Regions from separate parts of the Homo sapiens genome. Here all the other regions are linked to region 2. Evidence: promoter capture Hi-C in 16 types of primary human blood cells and fetal thymus (Javierre and others, 2016). All regions are on one chromosome and are shown on one strand. The core of a region is centred on a gene start or on the middle of the fragment in contact, and the rest is flanking DNA. Distances in the headings are between cores, read along the strand shown.

What was found. Contacts are between HindIII fragments. The CHiCAGO score rates a contact against its expected background, and 5 or more counts as called.
Region 1: the fragment with the promoter of KRT38 here is called in contact with the fragment with the promoter of KRT39 in region 2 in 17 of 17 cell types (non-activated CD4 T cells, activated CD4 T cells, total CD4 T cells and 14 more); the score reaches 13.3 in non-activated CD4 T cells.
Region 3: a fragment that was not itself captured here is called in contact with the fragment with the promoter of KRT39 in region 2 in 2 of 17 cell types (total B cells and non-activated CD4 T cells); the score reaches 6.1 in total B cells.
Region 4: a contact is called between the fragment with the promoter of KRTAP9-6 here and the fragment with the promoter of KRT39 in region 2, in 6 of 17 cell types (naive B cells, erythroblasts, total B cells and 3 more). The highest score is 7.3, in naive B cells.
Region 5: the fragment with the promoter of KRT37 here is called in contact with the fragment with the promoter of KRT39 in region 2 in 17 of 17 cell types (naive CD8 T cells, activated CD4 T cells, total B cells and 14 more); the score reaches 15.3 in naive CD8 T cells.
Region 6: a fragment that was not itself captured here is called in contact with the fragment with the promoter of KRT39 in region 2 in 3 of 17 cell types (M2 macrophages, naive B cells and M0 macrophages); the score reaches 7.3 in M2 macrophages.

Annotation. Positions count from the first base shown.
Region 1 is chr17:41,439,092-41,443,575 of GRCh38, forward strand. It overlaps KRT38 (keratin 38), which reads right to left and starts at 1,892. Exons shown (of 7, transcript NM_006771.4): 1 at 1,339-1,892; 2 at 1,070-1,152; 3 at 112-268. The coding sequence starts at 1,830. RefSeq lists an enhancer at 1,548-2,048. The HindIII fragment of the contact is 7,679 bases long and covers 1-2,115 here.
Region 2 is chr17:40,964,939-40,969,442 of GRCh38, forward strand. It overlaps KRT39 (keratin 39), which reads right to left and starts at 2,010. Exons shown (of 7, transcript NM_213656.4): 1 at 1,451-2,010. The coding sequence starts at 1,918. The region is part of intron 1 of LOC107985072 (a long non-coding RNA gene); the gene reads left to right. The HindIII fragment of the contact is 5,044 bases long and covers 1-4,504 here.
Region 3 is chr17:41,230,442-41,234,749 of GRCh38, forward strand. It overlaps KRTAP9-3 (keratin associated protein 9-3), which reads left to right and starts at 2,008. Exons shown (of 1, transcript NM_031962.3): 1 at 2,008-3,013. The coding sequence starts at 2,061. The coding sequence ends at 2,540. The HindIII fragment of the contact is 5,484 bases long and covers 1-4,308 here.
Region 4 is chr17:41,263,951-41,268,529 of GRCh38, forward strand. It overlaps KRTAP9-6 (keratin associated protein 9-6), which reads left to right and starts at 1,428. Exons shown (of 1, transcript NM_001277331.1): 1 at 1,428-1,910. The coding sequence starts at 1,428. The coding sequence ends at 1,910. The HindIII fragment of the contact is 5,841 bases long and covers 1-4,579 here.
Region 5 is chr17:41,422,288-41,427,056 of GRCh38, forward strand. KRT37 (keratin 37) reads right to left here and starts at 2,298. Exons shown (of 7, transcript NM_003770.5): 1 at 1,745-2,298; 2 at 1,475-1,557; 3 at 491-647; 4 at 1-147. The coding sequence starts at 2,236. The HindIII fragment of the contact is 11,234 bases long and covers 1-4,769 here.
Region 6 is chr17:41,329,028-41,333,499 of GRCh38, forward strand. It overlaps the pseudogene TBC1D3P7. Among named protein-coding and RNA genes, the nearest start is that of KRTAP17-1, 16 kb to the left of the region's middle. RefSeq lists an enhancer at 514-1,083. The HindIII fragment of the contact is 1,543 bases long and covers 667-2,209 here.

The sequences.
Region 1 (4,484 bases), core at 642-3,141, 470 kb after region 2:
CCTGCATCCTGATGCCAGCTGAGGCCAGGCAATGCTCTGAGAGCCCGGGGCTGGGGAGCTCCCCTGTCTGCCCAGTGCCCTCCCCAGGAGTTTGAGCGCCCAGGGCCACACCTGCTCGTGGTTGCTCTTGAGGGAGAGCTGCTCCTCCTTCAGGGACTCCTGCTGGGCCTCCAGGTCGGCCTTGGCCAGGGTCGCATCATCCAGGAGCTTCTGTGTCCCACACTTGTCTGCCTCCACCAGCTGGCGCAGGGAGCGCTCACTCTCCAGCCTTTCATCACAGGAGGTACAGGGTCAAAAAGAATGCCCCCAAGAGCCCCTCTCGGCTGCCCTGGCTTCCTACCTCCCACACCACCTTGGATCCTCATTTATTCACTCTGTTTAGCCCTCTGTCCTCAAAGGTGAATTAGACCCAGCCCCTCTTCTCAAAGAGCTCATGGTCTAATGGAGAAATCACAACACTACATTGCACAATATACATTTTTGCCATTGTATTCTGTGGCAACTGCAGTTCAGGAAGATCAACTGACTTGCGTAAGATCATGCATCTTGGGACCCAGTCCAACGCTCATGCCATTGCAGGGGCTGTCAGTTACCAAAGATAAGCAATAACCAGGTGCCTGATCGTGATCTGCGGCTCCTTATCCCTTGCTTTCAGCTGTCTTCCCCTCTCTCATTTTTGCCTAGGTACCTTATACCTGGTACCTTAGGGCTCCCTAATTAAATCTGGACAAAGACTCATCTGTAAGTGACTCCTCTGACTTATATATGAAACCCAATGGCTGTCTTGCTCAGTTCATCCTTCAAATCACCTCATTTTGCTCCTGGTTAATGAACTCAGGCTGCCTTATCCTCCATTTTAGGGAAATAAATGAAGGAAGACAAACATATATGCTTGGATTAATGAGGAGTTTTCCCTTCCATCTTCCATCAGCTTCGATTGTAATGAAAATTTTACTGTAGAGAATCTAGCAAGGAAGAAATGACAATGATTCCCTCACTCAACAAGTATTTGGGCATTGGGATGGAGGGTGGGGAAGGAGTCACCCTGGCCCTCCTCCGCCTGACTTACTTGATCCTAAAGTCATCGGCAGCCAGCTTGGCATTGTCAATTTGTACAATCAGCCTGGCATTCTCGGCCTTGCTGCACAGGATCTGAGGAGAACAGGAAGACAGTTCACACACAAAGCATCATGCCCTAGGCTCCTTCTCCACGTGTGGTGTCTATGATCATGTCCAAGAGAAACCAAGAACCCAAAGTTCTCTGAGCTTTACATGGATTCCTCCTGTCTTGCCTCTGCCATCTCAGACCCAGCACACCCAAGCGATCCCACACCTCACCTTCTGTTGGAGCTCCTCGATGGTGTGGAAGTAAGACTGGTAGTCGGGGCACACGGTGGACTCGTGGCACTTGCTCCTCTCGAGGAGTGTGGCCTCCAGCTCCGCATTCTCCTGCTCCAGCTGGCGCACCTTCTCCAGGTAGTTGGCCAGGCGGTCATTCAGGAACTGCATGGTCTCCTTCTCATGGCCATTCAGGGTGTTTTCACCATAGGCCCCACAGATTCCAATGTTGCCAGGAATGTGGCAGGTCCCTGGCAAGGGACAAGCAGTGTGGCAGGTAGGCGGCAGACAGAGGCTGGGGCGGCCCAGGGGAGTGGACCCCACACGGACTCGGTTGGCATGTGCCACGTTGGCCAAAAGGCACATGGGGGCAATGTTGGCCTCTGCCCCAGGCTGGCACCCAATGTCGATGGGAGAGACAGAGACATTTCTTGCTCCAGGAGCCATGGTGCAACCCAGAGGGCATGAGGAGCTGCTGTAGGAAGAGGTCATGGTGTTGGGCTGAGGCTGCACAGGAGCTTCAGATCAGCTGGGAAAGCTGAACCACTGAGACTGAAGCCTCCTCTCCTCCCAGCCCTTTTATACCCCATCCTGGGCGGGTGTTGGCTCCAATGCTTTGACCTCCTGCCTTGATTATCTACCTGTTGTGGTGCCATCATCCTGTTACTCAGCTGCTGAGTTTACCATGAAAAGTTTCTCAGCTCGTTAAAGGAATGTTGACGAATCTGAGGCCTCTTGGCTCTTTGAAATCAGGTTGGCTGTTGATGGGAGGTCAGAAGCTTTTTATTATCTTTCAAAGAAGCAAAGTTATAGCCATCAGATGCTTAGACCTTGACTGGGTTTGGCCTCTTTATGGATGTGTCCACTCTGGAGACACAAACTTTCCTGTTGGTCAGTGGTGTAGCAGGAGGACTAACCCCGGTGATGACAATGGTTCTCACTTGGGTTAAGACTCAACCAGCCTTCCCTATCCAGGGAAGAAACTGAGTCTTGGAATTGGTGGATGTTATGGCCTTGGGTTATCAAGAAGTCCTACATTTCTTCTTTCTTTAGTTGGTTGCCTTTCAGACTCACTTTGAGGAGCAACAAGACTTAGATGAATCCAGTCACTCAAAACACATCCCCTGGCTACGTCCCATATGCTACGCACCTTGCTGATGCTTGATATATAGTTGGTTAAGCACAAAATAGTTCCTGCCATTGGGGAACAACTGTAACTTGGGTAGACGTGATGTTTCAAACAAGGTATCTGAGAAGCTCATGAAAATGAGGATGACTCCAAAAACCATGGCTTATCTCGACCAAGAAGGGCAAGCTCAAGAAGCCAGAAATAAACAAAGAGAAATGAGCAATAATCTTACTGAACCTCAAATAAGAACTTGGTCATGAAAGTCAAAGGACATTGAGTGATCAGAGCCTCTGTGGGCTCTCTTCATACCTTGCTTCCTTTATTCTAAAGTCAGTCATGAGCCTTCACCCTATGAGCTAGGGGATTGAGCAATGATACCTTTTAATCTTTACTTCCAACCTGGGAGGTGGGTACTCTTAATTTTACAAAATAAATAAACAAGCCATTGAGGACAGTTTTCTAAGATCAACCTCACTATAAAGTATAAAGCCTATTCTCAACATCAGCTTCTTTCAACTCCAGAAACTGTTTCTTCACCTTGACCACCTCCAAATCCTCCACCCCAAGGATAACTACTGTGTCATTGCTAGAACTAAGAAGGATTCAAATTCCTAGAAACCGGGCAAGAAGTTGAAATTAAGATGTAAAACAAAAATCTGACATTGTGTATTTTTCCCTTTGTATCTCAGAAAATACAGATGTGGAGGTATTCATACAATAAAACAGAGTTTCTCCAAGGGCTAAATCAGAAGATGCCAGGGGAAAGTCCTGTCCCTAAAATGGTTATATTACACATTCCACATTCAGATAGTTCTTGGTACTAGGGATCCAAGACACATGGCTGCTGAGATCCCAAAACTTTTCTCCCAAAATTTGTGACAGAAGATACATAGACCCCTGAGACTAAGAAAAACCTAATGTGGAACAATCCAAAGTGATTATAACTAGAATTTTGGGAAAATGAGTTTTTGCCAGTCCCCTGAGCATTGAACAAAAGCTGAACATACACCTCTATAGGGATCAGACGTGCATATGTGAAACACAGGCTATTGGAGTTCTATCAAGAAGAAATACAGAATCTGAGAATTCAGTCCAGATTGGGCTTCTCAGGAAAGTAAGTAGTAGTGAGCGCTGACCTAAGGGTTATTCAGAGCTCACCAATCCATAACCCTTTACAGACAACATCATTGGGAGACATCACCAGGGCAGGCTGTCCCATCCTCCAGAGGCCACTGGGTGCAATCTGCATATGTTACATCTTCAAACACCCTTTTGTTACTCTCCTCCGCCTCATCACATAGCAACAAGCTTCTCTATAAATCAGAGAGCCAGGCTTTTAAAGTCATTTCCTTTGATTTGCTAAGTAGCACCCATCTTTTGGCTTTATCCTCTGCCCAGATTCATTCCATGGACTAAAAGCCACGATTTCGTCCATTCACAATACATGACTCATCACTGCTGAAGCCTTGTGTGTCCAGATGACACCCCTCTCTGCCAACTGGCTTGGGTCCTGGCTTGGGCTTCTACCTTGTACTGTTTTGCATAATGATACTGATGTTGCATGGCTCTTTGTAAAATCGCTTTGTTCCCCTGATTTGTATTTTCTCAAAGGAGGTGAAGGAGCGGGTGGGGATCCTAAGACTCTCTTCCTTCCCAACCCTTTAAAAAGAGTCCCTGTGGCCCCTGGTGACCGAATATGAGGCCAGGTTCAGTAACAAGAAGTGATGAATACAGAGTGTGAGAGATGGGAGCCTGCTGCCCTCCTTCATTCACCTGTGTGCACAACATTCTCTGTGTGGATTCTGACTTTAGACATGCCGATCTCTAGAGGCATGAAGTCTACTGCAAATGGAGGTGAGGAGCTGTGGTCTTGGAATGCCATTTTCACTAATTTTGATACATAGGGGCATATCTCAACCAATGGGAGAGAAAGGTATGGAGCTGTAGGCTAGCACCTGGAGATTGTGCCTAACTCAAAGTTTATCTTTTCTGTGTCATGGCTCCTACTGCTGGAAGA
Region 2 (4,504 bases), core at 760-3,259:
GTAATCCCAGCACTTTGGGAGGCCGAGGCGGGTAGATCACGAGGTCAGGAGATCAAGACCATCCTGGCTAACACGGTGAAACCCCGTCTCTACTAAAAATATAAAAAAAAAAAAAATTAGCTGGGCGTGGTGGCGGGCGCCTGTAGTCCCAGCTACTTGGGAGGCTGAGGCAGGAGAATGGCATGAACCCAGGAAGCGGAGCTAGCAGTGAGCCGAGATCGCGCCACTGCACTGCAGCCTGGGAGACAGAGCGAGACTCCGTCTCAAAAAAAAAAAAAAATACAAAAATTATCTGGGTGTGGTGGTGCGTGCCTGTAGACCCAGCTACTAGAGAGGCAGAGGAGGGAGAATCGCTTGAACCTGGGAGCTGGAGGTTGCAGTGAGCAGAGATCGCGCCATTGCACTCCAGCCTGGTGACAGAGTGAGACTCCATCTCAATAAATACATAAATAAATAAATAAAAAATAAAATAAAATCCATCCTAAATTTATATAAATACCATGATCCACTAGAATGTCAACTCCATGAGGGCAGGGACTTTTTAAAGGTCACCAATATTTTCCCAGAATCTAGAACAATGTTTGGCCCAATGTTGTTGCTGCTCAGTAAACATTTGTTGAATGAATAAAACTGAATAAATCCAGATATGTAGTAGCAGAATACGTCTGTGCATAACAAACTTAGGTTTGGTGTAGAAACAAACCAAGCAATGTGGAGATGATAACATAAGCATAAAAGGAGAAAAAGGTGGTGATGGTTGAAAAATGGATAAAAACTAAATTGCTTAGAAACTCATTAAAGCAAAATTTATTTTCTCTGATCTCTGTTTCCCTATTTTTATTTAAAAAATGGCAACAACTTGCTGTTAACATCTTTTGGTCCTGAGTCATCTAGTTATAATGGTAGAGTGTATTTCTGGAGAAAGGAAACACCATGAGACTCTTCTTTTTGTTTCTGATTTTTAAAGACATAGTCTCACTTTTGTCTGGGCTGGAGTGCAGTGGCAGGATCTTGGCTCATGGCAGCCTCAACCTCTTGGGCTCAAGTGATCCTCCCACCTCAGCCTCCCAAGTAGCTGGGACCACAGGCATGTGCCACCACGCCCATCTAATTTTTTTTTGTGTGTGTATGTGTGTGTGTGTGTGTGTGTGTGTAAGGATGGAATTTCATCATGTTGCCCAGGATGGTCTAGAACTCCTGGGCTCAAGTGATCTGTCTGCCTCAGCCTCCCAAAGTGTTAGGATTACAGGTGTGCATCACTGCGCCTGACCAGAAATACTATCAGACTCTGAATGCTGCCTCAAGATGACAATTTCACTCAAGAAATTTTTCTATTCTTCAAAAAAATTTTCAGCATCAACTGAACAAAAAATATTAAAGTTTAGCAAATAACTGTTGCTTGGAAACCATTAATTCACAACACGATTAAACAGGTTCTTAGGAATCTTACCTTCTGCTGGAGCTCCTCAATGGTAGTGTAGTAAGACAGGTAATCAGGACATAGAACAGGGAGCTCTTTGTTACTTTCTTCCTGGATTTTAGATTCCAGTTCAGCATTCTCTCGTTCTAGCATTCGCACCTTTTGCAGGTAGTTAGCAAGGCGCTCGTTCAAGATTTGCATGGTCTCCTTCTCATTACTGTTGATGCCTTCACCATACCAGCTGCAGTCATCCAGAGAAAAACGGGCATTGAAGTTGTTCATTAGGTAGATGGGCTTGCGACAAAAGCGAGGAGTGGGTTGGCAGCCCTGGTCCCAGGGAATTCTGAGAACGTGGCCAGCTGGTTGACAGTTGTTGACTGTAAGGCCACCAGGATGGCAGCCGTTGTTAGAAGAGATGGTACTAACATTTGTAATCCTAGAGCAGTTTTGACATGGGGTTGAAGGAGAATTGGTTGTTGTACAGCCCTTGGTGTCCATAGTATGTGTCTGGCTTTAGTTTGTTCCAGGTCTGTGGTCACCAGGATGAAAAGCTCAAGCCACCTCCACAGAGTCTGAATTCCAAGGCTCTTGGTGTTTTCCTCTTTGAAGTGCTTATATAGCCTCTCTTCTACGTGGTGTCACACAGGTGGGATGTTTTCCTTTCTCAGGTTTATATCAAATCCTGTAGGAACATCTTATTAGTCTGCTTTTTACTTGCTTAAGAAGAGTTATTTGTCTCATAAACATGTGCATTTAGGCTGTTAGTAAGTTATTACCCATCATAACTACTACTTGTCTATTGGACCCAGAGCTTCAAATTATGTCTTCAAAAGGAACTGTCCTAACAGCATCCATTATTAAGCAGGTGTGAGTATACTAAGTTCATTACATTCTTGTTGACCTCTCCACTTGGCACTGAGCTTAACCAGGAATGAGTTCATCCTTCTTTTCCTTTCTTCTCTAGAAAAGGGAAACTATTAATGTTTAATAATTATTGGTAAACTTAGAAATCAGAAGTCAATATTTTAGTTTGTTCTGCCCAAATGGTTTCCCCATTTTCAGTGTCAGGACAATGTGAGTATGAATTAAAATGTTAGTCTTTTAAAAGTCTTGTTTTAAAGATAATTGCTAGATTTATGTTTTAGCTTTCCATAAAATGTAATAACATAAAATAAAATATAAATAAAATATGAAATAAAATAAAAGCCATGGGGAAAAGGTAGGGTTTGATTGCTAATAAGAAATTTCTTGGAAAAGAGACTAGCTCTCTTTTGGTTTTCCAAAGTCCACATTTTATAACATTTTTAGTGCTTGGTGTTTGCTTGTGGTATTACATTAGATAAAAATGTATCACAGTGTTGGTTTATACTGGATGTTTAAATAGGATTCATTGAAAGGGGTGTGTTTTCTTTCTGAGGAATACTTACTCAGCATTTTCTTCAGAAAGTTACTTGCTGCTAATCCTTTATGGAGGCTCTAGGGGAACATCATTTTCTTGCCTTTTCCAGCTTCTACAGGCTGTCCACATCCTCAGCTAGTGGCCCCTTTTCATCCTTTTTTTTTTTTCTTGAATTATGAGATTTTTTGTACTTTGAGTTCTGGGATACATGTGCAGAACGTGCAGGTTTGCTACATAGGTATACAAGTGCCATGGTGGTTTGCTGTACCCATCAACCTGTCATCTACATTAGGTATTTCTCCTAATGCTATCCCACCCCTAGCCCCTCACCCCCTCACAGTCCCCGGTGTGATGTTCCCCTCCCTGTGTCCATGTGTGCTCATTGTTCAACTCCCACTTATGAGTGAGAACATGCAGTGTTTGGTTTTCTGTTCCTGTGTGAGTTTGCTGAGAATGATGGTTTCCAGCTTTATTCATGTCCCTGCAAAGGACATGAACTAATCCTTTATTATGGCTGTATAGTATTCCATGGTGTATATGTGCCACATTTTCTTTATCCAGTCCATCATTGATGGGCATTTGGGTTGGTTCCATGTCTTTGCTATTGTGAATAGTGCTGCAATAAACATACATGTGCATGTGTCTTTATAGTAGAATGATTTATAATCCTTTGGGTATGTATCAAGTAATAGGATTGCTGGGTCAAACTGTATTTATGGTTCTTGATCCTTAAGAAATTGCCACACTGTCTTCTGCATTGGTTGAACTAATTTACACTCCCACCAACTGTGTAAAAGTGTTCCAATTTCTCTCCATCCTCTCCAGCATCTGTTGTTTCCTGACTTTTTAATGATTGTCATTCTAACTGGTGTGAGATGGTATCTCATTGTGGTTTGATTTGCATTTCTCTAGTGACCAGTGATGATGAGCTTTTTTCATATGTTTGTTGGCCACATAAATGTCTTCTTTTGAGAAGTGTCTTTCTATATCCTTAGCCCATTTTTTTGATGGGGTTGTTTGTTTTTTCTTGTAAATTTGTTTAAGTTCCTTGTAGATTCTGTATATTAGCCCTTTGTCAGATGGACAGATTGCAAAAATTTTCTCCCATTCTGTAGGAGGCTGAGGCAGAAGAATTACTTGAACCCAGGAGTTCAAGTTCAGGTGGGCAACACAGTGCGATTTCATTTTTAATAAAATAAAATAAAATACAAAATAAAAGCCATGGGGAAAAGGTAGACCGTTATATGTATTATATGTACTTTGGGGACAATTTTGTATTCCCTTTGGTGTGGGGGCAGGGAATGTTGAAACCATACTTCATCCTTTACAGTGGGACGAATTACAAGTAGATCAAAGATTGAGATATGAAAAATAAATAATAAATATGCCCAAAAGGATAATTATTTTATAAATTTGGAGTCAGAAGACTTTTCCAATGATGACTCAAAATTAAGAAGCCGTAAAAAACTGTTAGATTTGACTCCATAAAATAACAGTGTTTGAACTTGTGCTTGGGTGAAAAATACAACCTGTAAAACCAGAAGACAAGATGACAAACTGGGAAACAATATTACAATTACACTCTAGACAGTGACCAAAAGGAAAATACAAAAGGCACTTAAAATAAGAAAAAATGCTCAATGTCACTCATGAAAAGAGAAATGTAAATTTAAATTATACTGAGA
Region 3 (4,308 bases), core at 891-3,390, 270 kb after region 2:
AGAGGAAGTGAGATGTAAAATGAAGGCCAATGAAATAAGCTACACTTACTGCTGCTATAGTACAGTGCACCTGAGATTCACAGTCTCCGTTTATTACCACCAGTTCTATTCTCCCTTCACCGCTGGCCAGCACTCTTCTTGGTCTGGATAACTGCCTGATAACTGCCTTGATAACTTCCTTCCTAAATTGTCTGAGCCTCTAGTTACTATACCACTGTCCACTGTGATTGCTGTTCTTACCGATTTGTAGTTATCACTGGACATGGACACACTATGAGATTCTCCAGTGTTATGGGTTAATTTGTGTCCCCCAAAACTCATATTCAAATAGAATCATTTAAAGTGTTATGTGATAAGGCAAGGTCATATTGGAAACAATTAGGCCTCTGATTAAATATGACTGATGTCTATATAAAAGGGGGAAATTCAGAGACAGCATGCATATAACAGAAAAATTATATCAAACACACATGGAAATGATAGACATCAACAAGTCAAGGAGAGAGACCTGGAACATGTACTTCCCTCACAGGCTTCAGATGAAAACAACATTGCCAAAACCTTAATTTCTGAACTGTGAAAAGATAAATTTAAGCCACTTGGTTTACAGTAATTTATTATGGCAGTGCTGGTAAGTTAATACACTTACTAAGTATCCTGAGCTATAGATATATTCTGCTACACTATATGGCTTAAAGATAATTACCCCTCACCAAATAGTAACTCCTTTCTCTGTCTGCTGCTCTGCTGACGGGAAGAGTCCAAAATGACTAGGCGATAACGATTCCTTTTGATTATAACAAAGAAACAGAGAAGCAAATACTATAATTTTTATTCACATGGAAATTTTAAAAAGCCAAAGTCATCTACTGGATTATAACTTGATAGAGTGATTAGCTGTTTGGAAATGAGTAAGCGGATATAATTGGGAGAGAATGGCATTAATTTCTATTTCCTAACCTGGTAATGGGGACATAGATGTATTTACAATGTAATACTATATCAGGTTGGAAATTAATAATTTGCATTCTTCTCAAGTGAATGATATACCTAGACAATGTTTTCAACATGTTAGAACTCCACGATGAATCAGGTGTCATCTCAACTCATCTAATCCCTTCATTGAAAAGAAATAGAAGAAATTACTTCTACTTACTTCTTCTTCTAGTTACTGCTAGTAACTAGGTTTAGGGCTAGAGCCACAGCACATGCTGGTTGGCCTGAATTTCAACGCTTACTTCTAGTTACTGCTAGTAACTAGGTTTAGGGCTAGAGCCAGAGCACATGCTGGTTGGCCTGAATCTCAAGAAGTTACGTGATAGAAAGTCCTCCATTCTCATCCCGGAAATCCCCACACTCCCAGACAAGTCAGAATGAATGGTCGTCCTAGGGCATACATTGCTTGATGCTGTCTAAATCTCAGCAGATTTCTCTGCATCCACCTGTTCTCGATCTGCTCTGTCGCATGGAACACACTGTGCAGTCACCGTCTTCCCAAGTGACATTCAAAGAACTGAAAGACACAGATGATGTGGGTGGCACAAAGAGATGCCTGTTAGTCTTGAGTCAGAATTTGGTGGGTGAATAGTCTTGGGCCCAGGCATGGATTCATTTTGTCACTGTAAATATATCAGCATCATGCTTCTCCCCACAGACACTTCCAAGTCTATATACAGCCAAACATGAGGCTGGCCAGAGAGAACTTCCTGAGCCCCCCGGATCAACAGGAACTGTCACATGACCAGATGATGGTCAGAGCAGGAATGATGCTGATGATGAGACGGGCTTCCTTTTATCTGAAACAAACTTTCTATGAGTAACTCACAATTAAGAAACAGATTAAACCCTTAGTTTAAAAGGTTCATAAGATTTCAGTAACAACTTCCCCTTTGACAATCCCAAATGGACTGTGGAAAACAATGTAAACAGCAACAAGGAAAAGTCCTGCTGATTGGTGGAAACTTTGGAGGCCAGGTGTATAAAAGGTCCAGATTGCAAGGGGTCATCAGATTTTGGGAAACTCACCTCTTAACAGAAGCCCACCCTCCATCCCTGACACCATGACCCACTGTTGCTCCCCTTGCTGTCAGCCTACCTGCTGCAGGACCACCTGCTGGCAGCCCACCACTGTGACCACCTGCAGCAGCACACCCTGCTGTCAGCCCTCCTGCTGTGTTTCCAGCTGCTGCCAGCCTTGCTGCCACCCAACTTGCTGTCAAAACACCTGCTGTAGGACCACCTGCTGCCAGCCCATCTGTGTGACCAGCTGCTGCCAGCCTTCCTGCTGTAGCACACCCTGCTGCCAGCCCACATGCTGTGGGTCCAGCTGTGGTCAGAGCAGCTCCTGTGCACCTGTGTACTGCAGAAGAACCTGCTACCACCCCACAAGTGTTTGTCTGCCTGGTTGCCTAAACCAGAGCTGTGGCTCCAACTGCTGCCAGCCCTGCTGCCGCCCAGCCTGCTGTGAGACCACCTGCTGCAGGACCACTTGTTTCCAGCCCACCTGTGTGTACAGCTGCTGCCAGCCTTCTTGCTGCTAATCAACTCCCAAGAGAACTACCATCCTCACACAACAACCTTCAGCTCAACTGACTTGTCTTTTGAGGGACTAATTTACTTTGCTGCTGACAGCCACCATGCTCTCACCCAAATTTTTATGAATTCTCTACATGTTTAAAATCTTGGGAATCTGCTTGAGGGAGGGCAGAATACTTCATCCTCATTCCCTCTTTCCTTACACCTTGTGGATCATGTGCCAGCTTCGTCTGTTCTTAATTTGGAGTCATGATCTCAGCTTTGTCTCAAAAATCAAGAGCTTCATTCTTTGCTTCTAAGGAATTTAGGTTTCTGCAACTGATCAATCATCTTTGCAATTATATTTTCATTTTAAATATCCTTCTCATGGTTCTTGTATCCTTCTTTCTTCTTTTCACGATAACTTTGGGTTATGTCTCTGGTAGCAGAGATTCTTACCTATATGTTTCTGAATAAACTCTGAACCATCTTCATCTCATATAGTGTTTTGTTTTATTTGAAAGCATTCCTGATATGGGATTTACACACATATCACATACCATAGGTATTATCCAATTTGATTCTCAAAACAGATGGTCGTGTATTATTAACTCCATTTTTTCAGCTGAGAACAATTTAATGTGTGATGTTATGTAGCTAGTAAAGGGCAGACTCTGGTCAAAGGTGAGGTCCTCTCTTTCTGCCCAAGGACACTTACGTTTAACTCCCAATATAGTAGAAAAGACACTGGAAGTCAGCACTAGCAAGACATGTACTTGAGTTTATTTAACAATGAGAGGAATAATCTGACATATTTGCAGATAACACTTTTGTTCACACACAAAAAAATCCCAAAGTAGTTCCCCACACCTCAGTGAGCAAAGGCTGCATGATATGCATTTAATGGCTGCCCTGAATGCAGAGATCTTTTTGTCTGAGCCTCTGACCAGCCATTCATTCAATTCATCTGCATCAAAAAATGCTTGAGAATTTATTGTGGACTCAGGAGACGGAGCCTCATCTGAAGAAACTTATTCTCAGTGTGATGTAAATAAAATTCTTATACAGCATCGGTCTCCTGAATACCAATTGACAAAGTAAATGAAACTAAGTTATTCATTGTAAAATACAGACCATACGTTATGCCACGTTAAGACAATTTGTCCCCTACTTGAAGTGTTATGAGTAAAATTATGTAAGAACAAAGCTGGGAATTGAGAAACTATGCAATGGGCATGTAAGACTTGGCACAACCCATAATCTCTGAGCTAAGGAAGGGAATAAAAACAACCTTCCACATTTTGTGAGGCCAATATGAAGAATCTAAAGAAATGAAAAACTTCTTTTTCCACGGAAATCAGAAGAATGTAAGAAAGGAGCAAGGTAGAACTTGTGCATTCATAGAAGACATAATAGACAGAGGTTGGTGCTTCGGGTCCTGAACTGATGTAAGATAACCATTCACTCATGAAAGGATTGATTGATGCTGGCTCTGAGAGAAATTGAAAAGTCGGGGACCTGGGGCACCTTCTTGGGGCCTCCTACCAGCAGGGGAGTGGTAGAAATACCTCTGATGAGCTAAAAATGTAGATTTCCATGACAGATGCCAACTTCCGAGACTGTGAATCTAGAATGCTCTGAAGACTTGGCTAAGAGACAACAGCCACTTACTGTCATCATCGTTCAGGGATGAAGTAAAGGAGATGAAAACTAGGACATTCTCTTTGACTAGCATCAGTTATGAAAGATGAATAAGTTCAGTAGGTCTAATGTACAGTAATATGACTATAGTTA
Region 4 (4,579 bases), core at 178-2,677, 300 kb after region 2:
GCAGTGTAATGCTTTAATATATATAGTAAATTTCTTGAGTTTCAGATATATTCTCCCTACGCTCTATGGCTTCACGAAAATTATCCCTCATGGAATATTAACTCCTTTATCTACCTGCTGGTCTGCTAACATGAAGGATCCAAAATGAAATGACCAGGTTATAATTGCTGCTTTTGATTATGCCAAAAACACAGTGAAGCAAATTCTATAATTTTTATTTACATAAAAGTCAAAGAAAAAAACAAAACTGACCTACAGGATTAAAACTTGATAGAGTGACTAGCTACCTTTGGAGATAAGTAAAAAGATATAATTTGGAGGGAATGGAATTAATTTCTATTTTGTAAACTGGTAATGGGGACTTAGATGTATTTATAATGTAATATTATATCAAGTTGGAATTCATAATTTGCACTCTTCTGAAATGAATGGTATAATTTAAAAAGTTTTAAACAATGGTAAACCTCAAAGAGGAATCAGATATCATCTCAACTCACCTAATTCCCTCACTGAAAACAGAGAGACAGAGAGAGAGAGAGAGAGAGAGACAGAGACAGAGACAGAGACAGAGACAGAGACAGAGAAATGGCAATGATTGTGCCAGTAACCTGGATTAGGGCTAGAGCCACAGCTCATATTGCTTTGCCTGGACCTCAAGCAGTAATGTCACAGTAATTCCCAGTCCCACATTCTCATGCTGGTAAGCCCCTCAGTCCCAGACAAATCAGGGTGAATGGTCACCGCAGCACGTAGATTGCTTGATGCTTTGTGAATTCCAGTGAACCCCTCCTCTTTCTACGTGTTTGCTTTGGCTCTGCTCTGCCACATAGCACACATTGTGCTGAACACCCTCTTCCCAAGAGGCTTTTATAGAACTGGAAGAGACAGGTAAAGTAGGTTGTACATAGAGAGATGCCTATCAGTCTTGAATCAGACTTTGGTGGGTGAACAGTCTTGGTCCCAAGCATGGATTCAATTCACCACTGTGAATATATCAACATCATGCTTCTCCCCACAGACACTTCCCAGTCTACATACAGCCAAAGGATGAGACTGGGCAGAGAGAACTTCCTGAGCCTCCCCAGTCACCAGGAACTATCACATGACGAGATGCTGGTCAGAGCAGGAACGAAGCTGATGATGAGACTGCCTTCCTTTTATCTGAAACAAAGTTTCTACGAGTAATTTACAATTAAGAAACAGATTAAACCCTTACTTTCCAAAGATTCATAACATTTAGGAAATGACTTCCTCTTTGACAATGCCAAACTGACTATGGAAAACAACTGTAAACAGCAAGAAAGAAAAATCCTGCTGATTGGTGGAAACTTTGGAGGCCACATGTATAAAAGGTCCAGATTGCAAGGGGTCATCAAATCCTGGGAAACTCACCTCTGAACAGAAGCCCACCCTCCACCCCTGACAACATGACCCACTGTTGCTCCCCTGGCTGTCAGCCTACCTGCTGCAGGACCACTTGCTGCAGGACTACCTGCTGGCAGCCCACCATTGTGACCACCTGCAGCAGCACACCCTGCTGCCAGCCCTCCTGCTGTGTGTCCAGCTGCTGCCAGCCTTACTGCCACCCAACTTGCTGTCAAAACACCTGCTGCAGGACCACCTGCTGCCAGCCCACCTGTGTGACCAGCTGCTGCCAGCCTTCCTGCTGCAGCACACCCTGCTACCAGCCCATCTGCTGTGGGTCCAGCTGCTGTGGCCAAACCAGCTGTGGGTCCAGCTGTGGCCAGAGCAGCTCCTGTGCACCTGTGTACTGCAGAAGAACCTGCTACCACCCCACGACTGTCTGCCTGCCTGGTTGCCTCAACCAGAGCTGTGGATCCAGCTGCTGCCAGCCCTGCTACTGCCCAGCCTGCTGTGTGTCCAGCTGCTGCCAGCATTCTTGTTGCTGAGCAGCACCACAGAGGACCATCATCCTCACACAACAACCTTCTGCTCAACTGACCTTTTTTTTCTTTTGAGACGGAGCCTCACTGTCACCCAGGCTGGAGTGCAGTAGCACGCTCTCGGCTCGCTGCAACCTCCATCTTCTGGGTTCAAGTGATTCTCCTGCCTCAGCCTCCTGAGTAGCTGGGATTACATGCCTGTGCCACCACGCCTGGCTAATTTTTTGTATTTTTAGTATTTTTAGTAGTTTTCACCATGTTGATCAGACTTGTCTGGAACTCCTGCCCTCAGGTGATCCACCTGCCTCAGCCTCCCAAAGTGCTGGGATTACAGGTGTGAGCTACCACACCCAGACCCAACTCACTTATCTTTCAGAAGACAGATTTACTTTCAAACTTTACTGATACACAGTATGCTTTCACCAATTTTTTTTATTTCTTTGCCTGTTTAAAATCTTGGGAATCAGCTTGAGGGAGGGCAGAATACTTCATCCTGATTCTTTTTTCCTTACACTTTGTGGATCATGTGCCAGCTTCATGTGTTCTCAATGTGGAGACATGGTCTCCATTCGACTCTAAAGTCAAGAGCTTCATTCTCTCCTTCTAAGAAACTTAGGTTTCTGCAACTGATCAATAATCTTTGCAATCATATTTTTGTTTTCAATTTTGTCCTCATGTTTCTTTTACCCTTCTTTCTTCTTTTCATTGTAACTTTGGGCTATGTCCCTAGTAGCAGGGATTCTTACCTATATATTTCTGAATAAATTCTGAACCATCCTTCATCTCATATGGTGTTTTATTTTACAGAATTGCTGATATGAGATTTACACACATATTGCATGCTATATGTATTATCCAATTTGATTCTGAAAACAGAGTTATTATTATGTATTATTACCTCAATTTTTCAGCTGAGAACAATTTAGTGTGTGATTTTATGTAGCTAATAAAGGACAGACTCTAGTCCAAGGTGAGAGCTTCTCTTTCTGCCCAAGAACACTTACATTTAACTCTCGGTAAAGTAGAAATGATATTGAGACTCAGCAATAGCAAGACATGCACTTGAGTTTATTTAATGTGGGAGGTATAATCTCTCATATTTGCAGACGACATTTCTGTTCACAAAGGTCTTCCCAAATTAGTTTTCCACACCTCAGTGAGTAATAGCTACATGGGATGACAACAGGGACGGCATTTAATAGCTGCCCTGAGTGAGGATCCCTTTTTGTCTCAGTCTTTGACCAGCTATTTATTCAATTAATCTGCATCAGAAAATTTTGAGAATGCATTGTGTCCTCATGAGAGAGGATCTCATTTGGGGATTTTTTTCCTGGTATCACGTAAATAATATTCTTATATGGCTTCCTTCTCCTGAATACCTGTTGACAAAGCAAAAAGAATTTAAGTTATTCCTTCTAAAATATGGACCATACATTAAGCCACATTAAGTCAAATTGTCCCTCAAATCAAAATGTTATTAGGAAAATTAAGTGAAACAAATTTGGGGATTGAGGGACTATGCAATGGGCATGTATGACTTTGTACAAACCATAAAGGTATAAAACAACCTTCTGAGTTTTGTGAGGCAAATAGGAAGCATCTCAAGAAACCAAAAACCTGTGTTTCCAGGGAAATCAGAAGAATTTAAGAAGGAGGAAACGTGGAAGAACTTTCTCATTCATGGAAGTCATGATAGATGGAAAACTGGCGCTTTTGTTCCTGAACTGATGATGCAACTGAAGTATTCAGTCATGGAGGGATTCATTGATACTGGCCCTGAGAGAATTAGAAAAGTTAGGGACCTGGGCCACCTTCTTGGGACCTCCTACCGGCATGGGAGTGGTAGAAATACCTCTGAGGAGCTAACAATGTAGGTTTCCAGGACAGATACCAGCTTCTGAGGTGGTGTATCTAGAATGCTCAGAAGACTCAGCTAAGGGACAAAAGCCACTGACTGTGATAGTTGTTGCATAATGGGGTAAAGAAACTGAAGAACTATCACATTCTCTTTGACCAACATCGGTTATGCAAGATGAGTCAGTTCTGCAGATCTAGTGTACAGCAACGTGACTATAGTTAACAAAAATGCTTTATTTTATACCTGAAATGTGCTAAGAAGGTAGATCTGGAGTGTTGCTAAGAAGGTAGATCTGAAGTGTTTACACCACAAAAATAAAAAGGAAATGGTAACTATGTGAGCTAAGGAATATATGATAATTCACAATAAGTATATACATATCTCAAAACATCACCTCGTACACATTAAATATACACAATTTTATTTTTATTTATCAATTATGCCTCAATAAAGCTAGTAAAGAAAGAAGTGAGTTGATCTGGTTAATTATTATTCATGTATTCTTATCTTCAACATTAAAATTAGGAGTTCTCTGGACAAAAAAAAAACTAATATGTCCTAGGTTGCCTACTATTTAATGGGTATTGATTAAATGCTTTATGAACATTATCATTAATTCTTGAAGAAACATTCAAAGTAGGTATTAATGTTCCCATTGTAGAGATGAGAAAATTGAGTCTGAGAGAGGAAATGTAATATCAGAGTTTGGTTTTCCCATAACAAACTCCAAGAAAAATATTCCAGTGAAAGTAGTTTATTGGAAAGTGCAGATCACACCAGCAGGTATTGGAGAAGTGACACAGAAAAGGGTAGACTA
Region 5 (4,769 bases), core at 1,048-3,547, 460 kb after region 2:
CTGTTCCACATCCTGGTGGTTGGTCTCCACCATGGCCTCGTACTGAGCCCGCATCTCCCCCAACACCCTGTTCAGGTCAATGGTGGGCTCAATGTCCAGCTCGATCCGGAACTTCTCCCCCAGCTGACTCCTCAGAATCTTTACTTCCTGCAGAAATGGAAGCGATAGACAGCCTGCGTAAGGAAACGGCCTTTGATGGAGCAGACAGCACCAGGACTCCGTCCCTGGCAAGCAGTAGGAGGGGAGTCCCACACATAAGCAAATGGGAAAGTCTTGTCCAGAGTGCATTTGGGAGAGCCCACCTGGACACCTTCCTCATGCCCAAGGCAAGTCTGCACTTTCCACAGAGGCCCTCTGGACCCTCAGACCCACCTCAGCCCTGCATCCTTAGGCCAGCTGAGCCCAGGCAATGCTCTGAGAGCCCCAGGGCCGGGGAGCTCCCCTGTCTGCCCAGCGCCCTCCCCAGGAGTCTGAGCAGCCAGGGCCACACCTGCTCGTGGTTGCTCTTGAGGGAGAGCTGCTCCTCCTTCAGGGACTCCTGCTGGGCCTCCAGGTCGGCCTTGGCCAGGGTCGCGTCATCCAGGAGCTTCTGCGTCCCGCACTTGTCCGCCTCCACCAGCTGGTGAAGGGAGCGCTCACTCTCCAGCCTTCCGTCACAGGAGGCACAGGGTCAAAAAGAATGCCCCAATAGCCCCTCTCAGCTGCCCTGGCTTCCTACCTCCCACACCACCTTGGATCCTTATTTGTTCACGTGGGCAGTATACACTATTCTCAACCCTGCAGCGACACGGTTTGTAGTCAGGACATTATGCCCATTGACCAGATGGAAGACTGAGGCTCAGAAACAAAACACGAGTTGTTCAGAATTCCATGCCCAGTTAATAGTAAATGCATGGACTCATCCTAAGTGTTCTGACTTCAAATGCAGCATTTATTCTGCCATAATAGGAGTCATTTGGCCAGGAAAAAGAATGGCTAAAAATAAGCCTCTGGACCTTCAGTTTGCTGCTTTTCCTCTTGGATTCATTATTTCTCGTTGTTTTCTTGCTTTTCCCCTTCATTCAAGCACAACTCTAGCTACCAAGGAGCTTCAATGACAATTCCTCCAGCTGATGGATTTGGCCAAGAGTCAGAGAGTCTAGCAACAACCTATGCATTGACAGTTTATTTTTGTGATGACTCAATTTTACTTCTGATTGAAAAGCAAAATCCTCTTATCTTCTAGATATGGGAGAAAGTGACATAGGTTCTAACCAATCTAGACTACAGCCCTTCTTTTTCTTTCAATGCTTATATTCTCTTTCCTCCTATATAATGACCATTTCTAGCAACAGGCTAATTTAAGGTGTGGAGAGAAATATTCTTCTAGTCAAAAACTGTTTTTGAACACCTACAATATAGACTGAGTAATGGGGCGGGCCCTTGGAAATACAGCAGGAGAGAAGTCACACTGACCCTCCTCATCCTGACTTACTTGATCCTAAAGTCATCAGCAGCCAGCTTCGCGTTGTCAATTTGTACAATCAGCCTGGCATTCTCAGCCTTGCTGCACAGGATCTGAGGAAAACGGAAAGACGGTTCACACACAAAGCACCATACTCTAAGCTCCCACTCCATGTGTGGTATTTACGCTCATGTCCAAGAGAAACCAAGAACCCAAAGCTCTCTGGACCTTATGCAGATTCCTCCTGCGAAGGCTTCTGCCTTCTCAGACCCAGCATGCCCAGGCGATCCCACACCTCACCTTCTGCTGGAGCTCCTCGATTGTACGGAAGTAGGACTGGTAGTCGGGGCACACGGTGGACTCGTGGCACTTGCTCCTCTCGAGGAGTGTGGTCTCCAGCTCTGCATTCTCCTGCTCCAGCTGGCGCACCTTCTCCAGGTAGTTGGCCAGGCGGTCATTCAGGAACTTCATGGTCTCCTTCTCATGGCCATTCAGGGTGTTTTTGCCGTAGGCCCCACAGATTCCGATGTTGCCGGGAATGTGACAGGTCCCTGGCAAGGGACAAGCAGTGTGACTGGTTGGGGGCAGACAGAGGCTGGGGCGGCCCAGGGGAGTCGACCCCACACGGACTCTGTTGGCGTGTGCCACGTTGGCCAAGAGGCACATGGAGGCAGCATTGGCCTCTGCCACAGGCTGGCACCCAACATCGATAGGAGAGACAAAGACATTTCTTGCTCCAGGAGCCATGGTGCAACCCAGAGGGCATGAGGAGGTGCTGTAGAAGGAGGTCATGGTGTAGGGCTGAGGCTGCACAGGAGCTTCAGATCAGCTGGGAAGGCTGAGCCACTGAGACTGAAGCCTCCTCTCCTCCCAACCCTTTTATACCCCATCCTGGGCGGGTGTTGGCTCCAGTGCTTTGACCTCCTGCCTTGATTATCTACCTGTTGTGGTGCCATCATCCTGTTACTCAGCTGCTGAGTTTACCATGAGAAGTTCCTCAGCTCATTAAAGCAATGTTGACAAATCTGAGATGCCTCTTGGCTCTTCCATATCAGGTTAGCTGTTGGTGGGAAGTCAGAGACTCACTGTTTCTGCTCAACAAACACCAGCAGTTGATTCAGGCCCCAATTGCTCTCTCTGGACTATGGTCTCTGTGGATGTGGTCACAATGAAGGCTCAAATCTTTCCGTCAGTAATTTGTGTAGCAGGAGACACAGAGAACCAATGGGACCCACTGGATCTTTCGCCTGTGCAAGACTGAATCAGCCTTTCCTTTGAAGAGAAAATATCAGTTAATAAAACCAATGCATCTACTGATATTTGACGATTGAGAGGCGCCTTTTTTTCTTTCTTCTTTCACATTGCATACTCCCTTGAGAAGCAATAACATCTGGAAGCAATGGCGCTAATTAAGTTTTGGTTGACTAGTCAGAATCAGCTATTCATTCATTTGTTCATTCATTCATTGGTTCAGCATGCTTCCTGAATATCCCCCATAACTCAGGCAGTGTGCTGGTTCCTGGACACGCAATGTTCCCTGTTCATCAGGAGTAAACAATGCCTCTGAAATCTCTGGATGTTCTACACAAACTTGAATGAGAACCATAGATCAACAAGAGTTAGTGAAAGACAGAGGATCTATAGTTCTGGCCAAGGAAGTATCTAGAAAGAAATCACTAACAAAGAAAAATCTTATTTGATCCAGGAAAGGGAGATTGGGCACAGAGCTCAAGCAGTATTCAAATGAAAGGTCCAGAACTAACATTGATTGAGTACTTAGGTGTGCTAGGCATTCTACTGTGTTCTTTCCTATCTAACCCTTACCACCTATGAGGTGGTTACTCATTGCCTCAATGTACAGATGAGAAAACTAGAGTGAAGTACATTTGCACATTTTCTGATTGACAGTTAGTGAACTGGCAAAGGCTCGATTCAGTCTCATGTCTGCTAGGCCCATTCTCTTTTCACTTCATCATGGCCCCCGGTGAGAACAACGGTGTCATTGCCCCGTCAGTGCTGGGCCTAAGGAGAGGGCAAGAAGGGGCTTAGTTACTGGATGAGAAATTGTGGTGAAAAGAAAATTACTGAAGGTCTTTGTGTTCCAGCAAAGGAAAAGATTTAAATACTATGGCAGTGACAACAAGAAAATGCACTTTAAAAAGTTAAACTAGGCCGGGCGCGGTGGCTCACGCCTGTAATCCCTGTACTTTGGGAGGCCAAGGCAGGCGGATCACCTGAGGTCAGGAGTTCGAGACCAGCATGAACAACATGGAGAAAACCGGTCTCTACTAAAAATATAAAATTAGCCGGGCATGGTGGTACATGCCTGTAATCCCAGCTACTCAGGAGGCTGAGGAGGAGAATTGCTTGAACCCGGGAGGCGGAGGTTTCCGTGAGCCAAGATTGCGCCATTGCACTCCAGCCTGAGCAACAAGATTGACACTTTGTCTCAAAAAAGAAAAAAAAAGTTACGCTAGTTTGTAACATATGCATCATTTAAGACAGGGTGCGTCCTGAGAAATGCGTCGTTAAGAGATTTCTTCACTGTGGAAACATTATAGGGGGAACTCACACAAACCTAGATGGTAGAGCCTACTACACACCTAGACTGTATAGCACAGCCTATAGCACCTGGCTACAAACCTGTACAGCATGTTGCTGTACTGAGTATCATAGGCAACTATTATTAACACGATAATATTTGTGTATCTAAACATAGAAAAGGTAATGCATTGCACTACGACATTATAACCACTTCCACATCACTAGAGAATAGGAATTTTCAGCATCATTATAATCTTGTGGGACCACCGCCCGTATATGTGGTCTGTCGTTGACAGAAACATTCTGACTGTATATCCCAAATCCCAGAGATTTCCAGTAGAGCTGGAAAACAAGTCAACCAATGGGGGTGTGGCCAGGAGTCATCCCTCCCAAGTGGTAGAGGGAAACCAGAAGGACCATGGGACAAGCTCTAAAAGAGTATAAATAAACTCTTTAAAAAAAAAAAAATCCCAATTAGTGGGAAAGTAAATGGCTGATACTAGTAGCAAAACCTTAAGTCTTTGAAATTGACATACTGGAAATGAGCCATTATTAAGATTTTAAATGAAAATAATAGGATTTAGACATAAAATAGGAAGCAAAATACAGTAAACAGAAATCGTGTAGCCAAATATGCATCAAATATGCATTCCCTTCAGCTACACTTTTTTCCTCTGAAATACAAGTTTTAGAAAATCTTAGAAGAGGGGTGGGCGCAGGACTTAATGCTGGGAAGCAACAACTTTGGGGCTGAATTTACTTGAATGGATTACAAATTGCA
Region 6 (4,472 bases), core at 188-2,687, 360 kb after region 2:
AGCTCTGCATTGTCACAATTCACCTTACAGAACCGGGGAGAGATCTCGAAGCCTTGCAGCCACTGCTGCAGCCACAGCAGGTGCCACCACCACGTGCCTTCCAGCTGCCAGTGCAGGCTCTCCTGACAGCAGGGCACCCTGCAGCCCTCACCTCAGCAGCTCAGACTCTGAAGGTATCTGTTGTTCATGTTCCCAGTGCTCCCACCAAAGAGAATTACTACAGAGAATACTCTTGGTCCTGAGGTGGGCAAAACAGCATGCCCTGTGGATGGAGCCGGCTTCTTTCCCAGCCACCATGCTTGCTGGATGGGCCCGCAGAGCAAGTGGCCATGAGACGGGCATGGGGACGGGAGAGGCTCAGCATCCTGCACATGCCCTTACCAAGGCTCACCAGGCTGACACCACTGCTGAGCGCCTTGTCTGTGGAAAACAGATTCACACCCAACCCCTGGGATGGCACCATTTCCCAGAAGGACCAGCTGGCCACCTACTGGCAGGCTGACCACACTGCGGAAGGGGCTGAGATTGGCTTTCACTGCACTGAGCCACAACGTGGACATGCACTTGCCGGCCCTGCAGTGCACACAGCACTGCTTCCGACCAGGGCACCCCATTCACAGCTAGGGACAAGCAGCAGTACACTCCCGAGGCCCCACAACCCAAACAAGCTTCCCATCCTCGTTTTACTTTTTTGTTAAACTTATGAAAATTTATGAAGAAAGTGCACAGCTCTAAAGACATTAACAGATGGAACACATCAGCCCCCAGATCACAAAGCCAACCCAGCCTCTGCGCCCCCAGCCCTGCAACCAGTGTTCTGACTTCTGACAACACCATGAGCCTGCCTTTTGTACTTTACACTCATGGAAGGATAACCACGTCCATGTTTTAAAATAAATGTTTACTTTTGAAATGATTTTAGATATATAGAAAAACTGAAAAGGCATTATAGTGTACTCCGACACCTTCCGTCCAGCTGCCCCTAATAATGACATTTTGCATTACCATGGCACATTTGTCCAAATTAAGAAATTTAGGCCAGGTGTGGTGGCTCACACCTGTAATCCCAGCAGTTTGAGAGGCCAAGGCAGGAGGTTAAGGTTCATTTGAGTCCTGGAGTTTGAGACCAGCCTGGGCAACATAGGTAGACCCTATCCCTGGAGAAAAGTTAAAAAAAAAAAAAAAAAAAAATAAGGAGCCAGGCATGGTGGCGTGTGCCTATAGTCCCACCTAATCAGGAGGCTGAAGCAGGAGGATCGCTTGAGCCCAAGAGATCCAGGAAGCAGTGAGCTATGATCGCACCACTGCATTCCAGCCTGGGCGACAGAATGAGACTTTCTCTCTTAAAAAAAAAATTAAGGAATTTAACATGGGTGCAATCCTGTTAACTGAATAATAATGTTAACTATTATTTAAGGTTATTAATGCTGTCACTATATTAATATGGTGAAATTCATTCAGATTTCACCTGTTTTTGCTTAACTTCTGGTACCTGTCCCAGGATCCCACCTCGGACTCACCTTCTGTCTTTAGGTCATTCCTCCTTAGCTTCCTTCAGAGGTTGCAACCAAACACACACCTTGGCTGAATGGTAGAGCTGATTGCTCCTGGGCTCCAAACCTCTGCAGCATGTTACCATACTGAGTACCATAGGTAGTGGTAACACAATGATGGCTATTTGTGTATCTAAACACAGAAAAGAATGATAAAAATACAGTATAAATGATAAAAAAAAAAAAAAATTGGTACACCTGGCCAGATGTAGTGGTTCATGCCTATAATCCCAGCACTTTGAGAGACCATGCCGGGAGGATCACTTGAGCCCAGAAGTTCTAGACTAGTCTGGGCAACATAAAAAGACCCCATCTCTTTTTAGATATCAATTTTTAGAGATGGTACACCTGTATAGGGCAGCTCCATTATAACCTTATGGGACCACCATTCTATATGCATTCTGGCACGGACTGAAATGTTGCTATCTGACACATGATTGCATAGGTAAGTAATCTAGAGATGATTTAAAGCATATGGGAAGATGTGCTTAGGTTATATGCAAATACTGTACCATTTTATATCAAGACTGGAGCATCTGTGGATTTTGGTATTTGTGGGAGGTGGTGAAACTGATTCCCGACGTACGCAGAGAGACAACTGTAAACATTTCGGACCCCACAGAAGGCTCAATTGCCTGCCCCCTCACCCTCAGGTAAGCTTTCTAAAGTGTTTGTTTCACTTTACCTGCTCATCCGTGAGCCAGAGGGCTCCATCAACAGCTTGGGCTGTCTCAGAAAGACCTGGATTCAATCCCATTCAGCCACTTAGTAGCTGTGTCACTTTGGGCAAATCATGTAACTTCTCTGAACCTCAGTGTCCTCATCTGTAAATTGGGCCGATGGTGACCCTTACTTTGCAGGCCCCCGTGAGGACTAAGTGAGATGAAAGCTGACACCCCAAGTGACACCACTTCTCCCTTCCTCAGACTCAACAGGAAAACGCCTTCACTGCCCAATGCAAAGGCTATGGGGAGGATGAGAGGCTCCAGGGATCCCCTGTCCCAGGAGCATAAACCCTGGATTTTTGCTTCCAGAAATAACCTTCTCTAGGATCAGGATGGTTCTTAACTCCCCAAAGACTGTGAGCCCACCCTAGGCGGCATCTTCAGCAGTGGGGAAGGGGATGCACAGTGCCAGCCTCACCCTGGCCACTGTCTGCCCTCATGACTCAGAGCCCAGCTAGGTCCCCACGCAGAGCAGTGCAGGAACCTACCTTGGTCCCAGGCTCCAGCCATCCCGGCCACCCCCACCTGCCACCACCCTGTCTCCTCCATCCCTCAGCCCCTGCTTGCCTCGTTCACAGCTCAGTGTCCTGACATCTTAGCTCCTTGCATGTCACCGTCGTCTGTCTCCTCAAGGGGAGTGCAGCACAAGGGCAGGAAACTCGGTCAGTCTGTGGATGTGTCTCTGGTGTCAGGCAGAGATTAAAAGCTCCATATATACTTGCCCAGTGTCTGCGTGCATTCCAAAGCAAGAGACAGCTTTGGAAATGAGAAGAGACCCTCCTGAGGTGAGAGTCCTTAGTTGGCATTTCCCAAGTATTCTCGGCATGCCAGGCACTGAGCTGGACCCATGGACATGTGAGCTCTGGACCCTGTGGGTGCTGTCACTCATGTACAGGTGGGTCCGCCTGGACCTGGTGCAGTCACATAGCTCCCTGATAGCTAAGCTGAAATTGGAACCCGTTCAGTTTGGCTCTTGCTCTGCTCAATGGCTCCCCAGCTGCTCCAAGGGAGAGCTGAAGCCTTGCAGTGGCCTCAGGTCATTGAACCTGGGCCTTCTCTCCCTGAGCTATCTCCTGCTCTCCCCTAGCTCACACCAGGCCAGATGCAGGCTTCCCCTCTGGGCCTCAGGCATGCCAATCATGCTCCTGCCTCAGGGCCTTTGCACAAGCCATTCCCGCTGCCTGGAATGCTCTCTGCCTAGAAAACTGCTTGGCTGACCCATCACCTCCTACAAACCTTGCTCAAACCTTGCTTCATCAATGAGGACAACCCTGGCCATGCATCTAGAAGGGGCCCAGCACAGGGTATGTGCTCAATACACAGATGAAGAAAGAAGGGATGGAGAAGAGGGAGGTGGAGGAAGGGCAGAATGCCCATGGCCATTTTTATTCCAGTGATAACAGGTAGCAATGAATACCTAAGGGCAACGCGGATGGGGCAAAATGAAAGATCACAAAAGGCCAACATGAGCAGGTTGGGAGAGTGCAGCTCTACTCATCTGCCCTGATGCAGATTTGGGGACTCCAGATGTGTCACCTCTGGGCAGCCCCTTCTCGGCCCCCTCCCCACTGAGCTCTTCTTCCACCTCCAAGCCTGGCCCATCCTCCAGGGATCCAGGACAATATAGGAGACAGCTGTTTATCTCCCAGAACACTGGGAAAGGCTGTGGGTGGGTAAGATGCTCAGCGGCCCTTGAAACTCATCTCAGTTTTGCTCCAAATGTGCAGCCCTGCCACTCCTGTGAACAGGAAGAGCACTGGAATGAGAATCAAGACACTGGGCCCTATTCCTCTTGACATCTGAATATCTTCCCCATCCCAGCATTTCCCAGGGGCCTGGGAGAGGGACAGTTGTCTCATGTATTGTCCTGCTTTGTCTGTGTATTGAGCACATACTCTGTGCTGGATGCCTTCTAGATGCGTGGCCGGGGTTGTAGTCCTCATTGACGAGGCAAGGTTCGAGCAATGTTTGCAGGAGGTGGTGGGTCACCCAAGCAGATATCTTGGCAGAGAGCATTCCAGGCAGTGGGAATGGCTCATGCAAAGGCCCTGAGGCAGGAGCATGACCGGCATGCCTGAGGCCCAGAGGGGAAGCCTGCATCTGTCCTGGTGTGAGCAGAGGCAAGCAGCAGAGAGCTCAGGGACAGAAGTCCCAGGTTCAATGGCTGAGGCTGTTGCAAGGCTCTAGCTGTCAC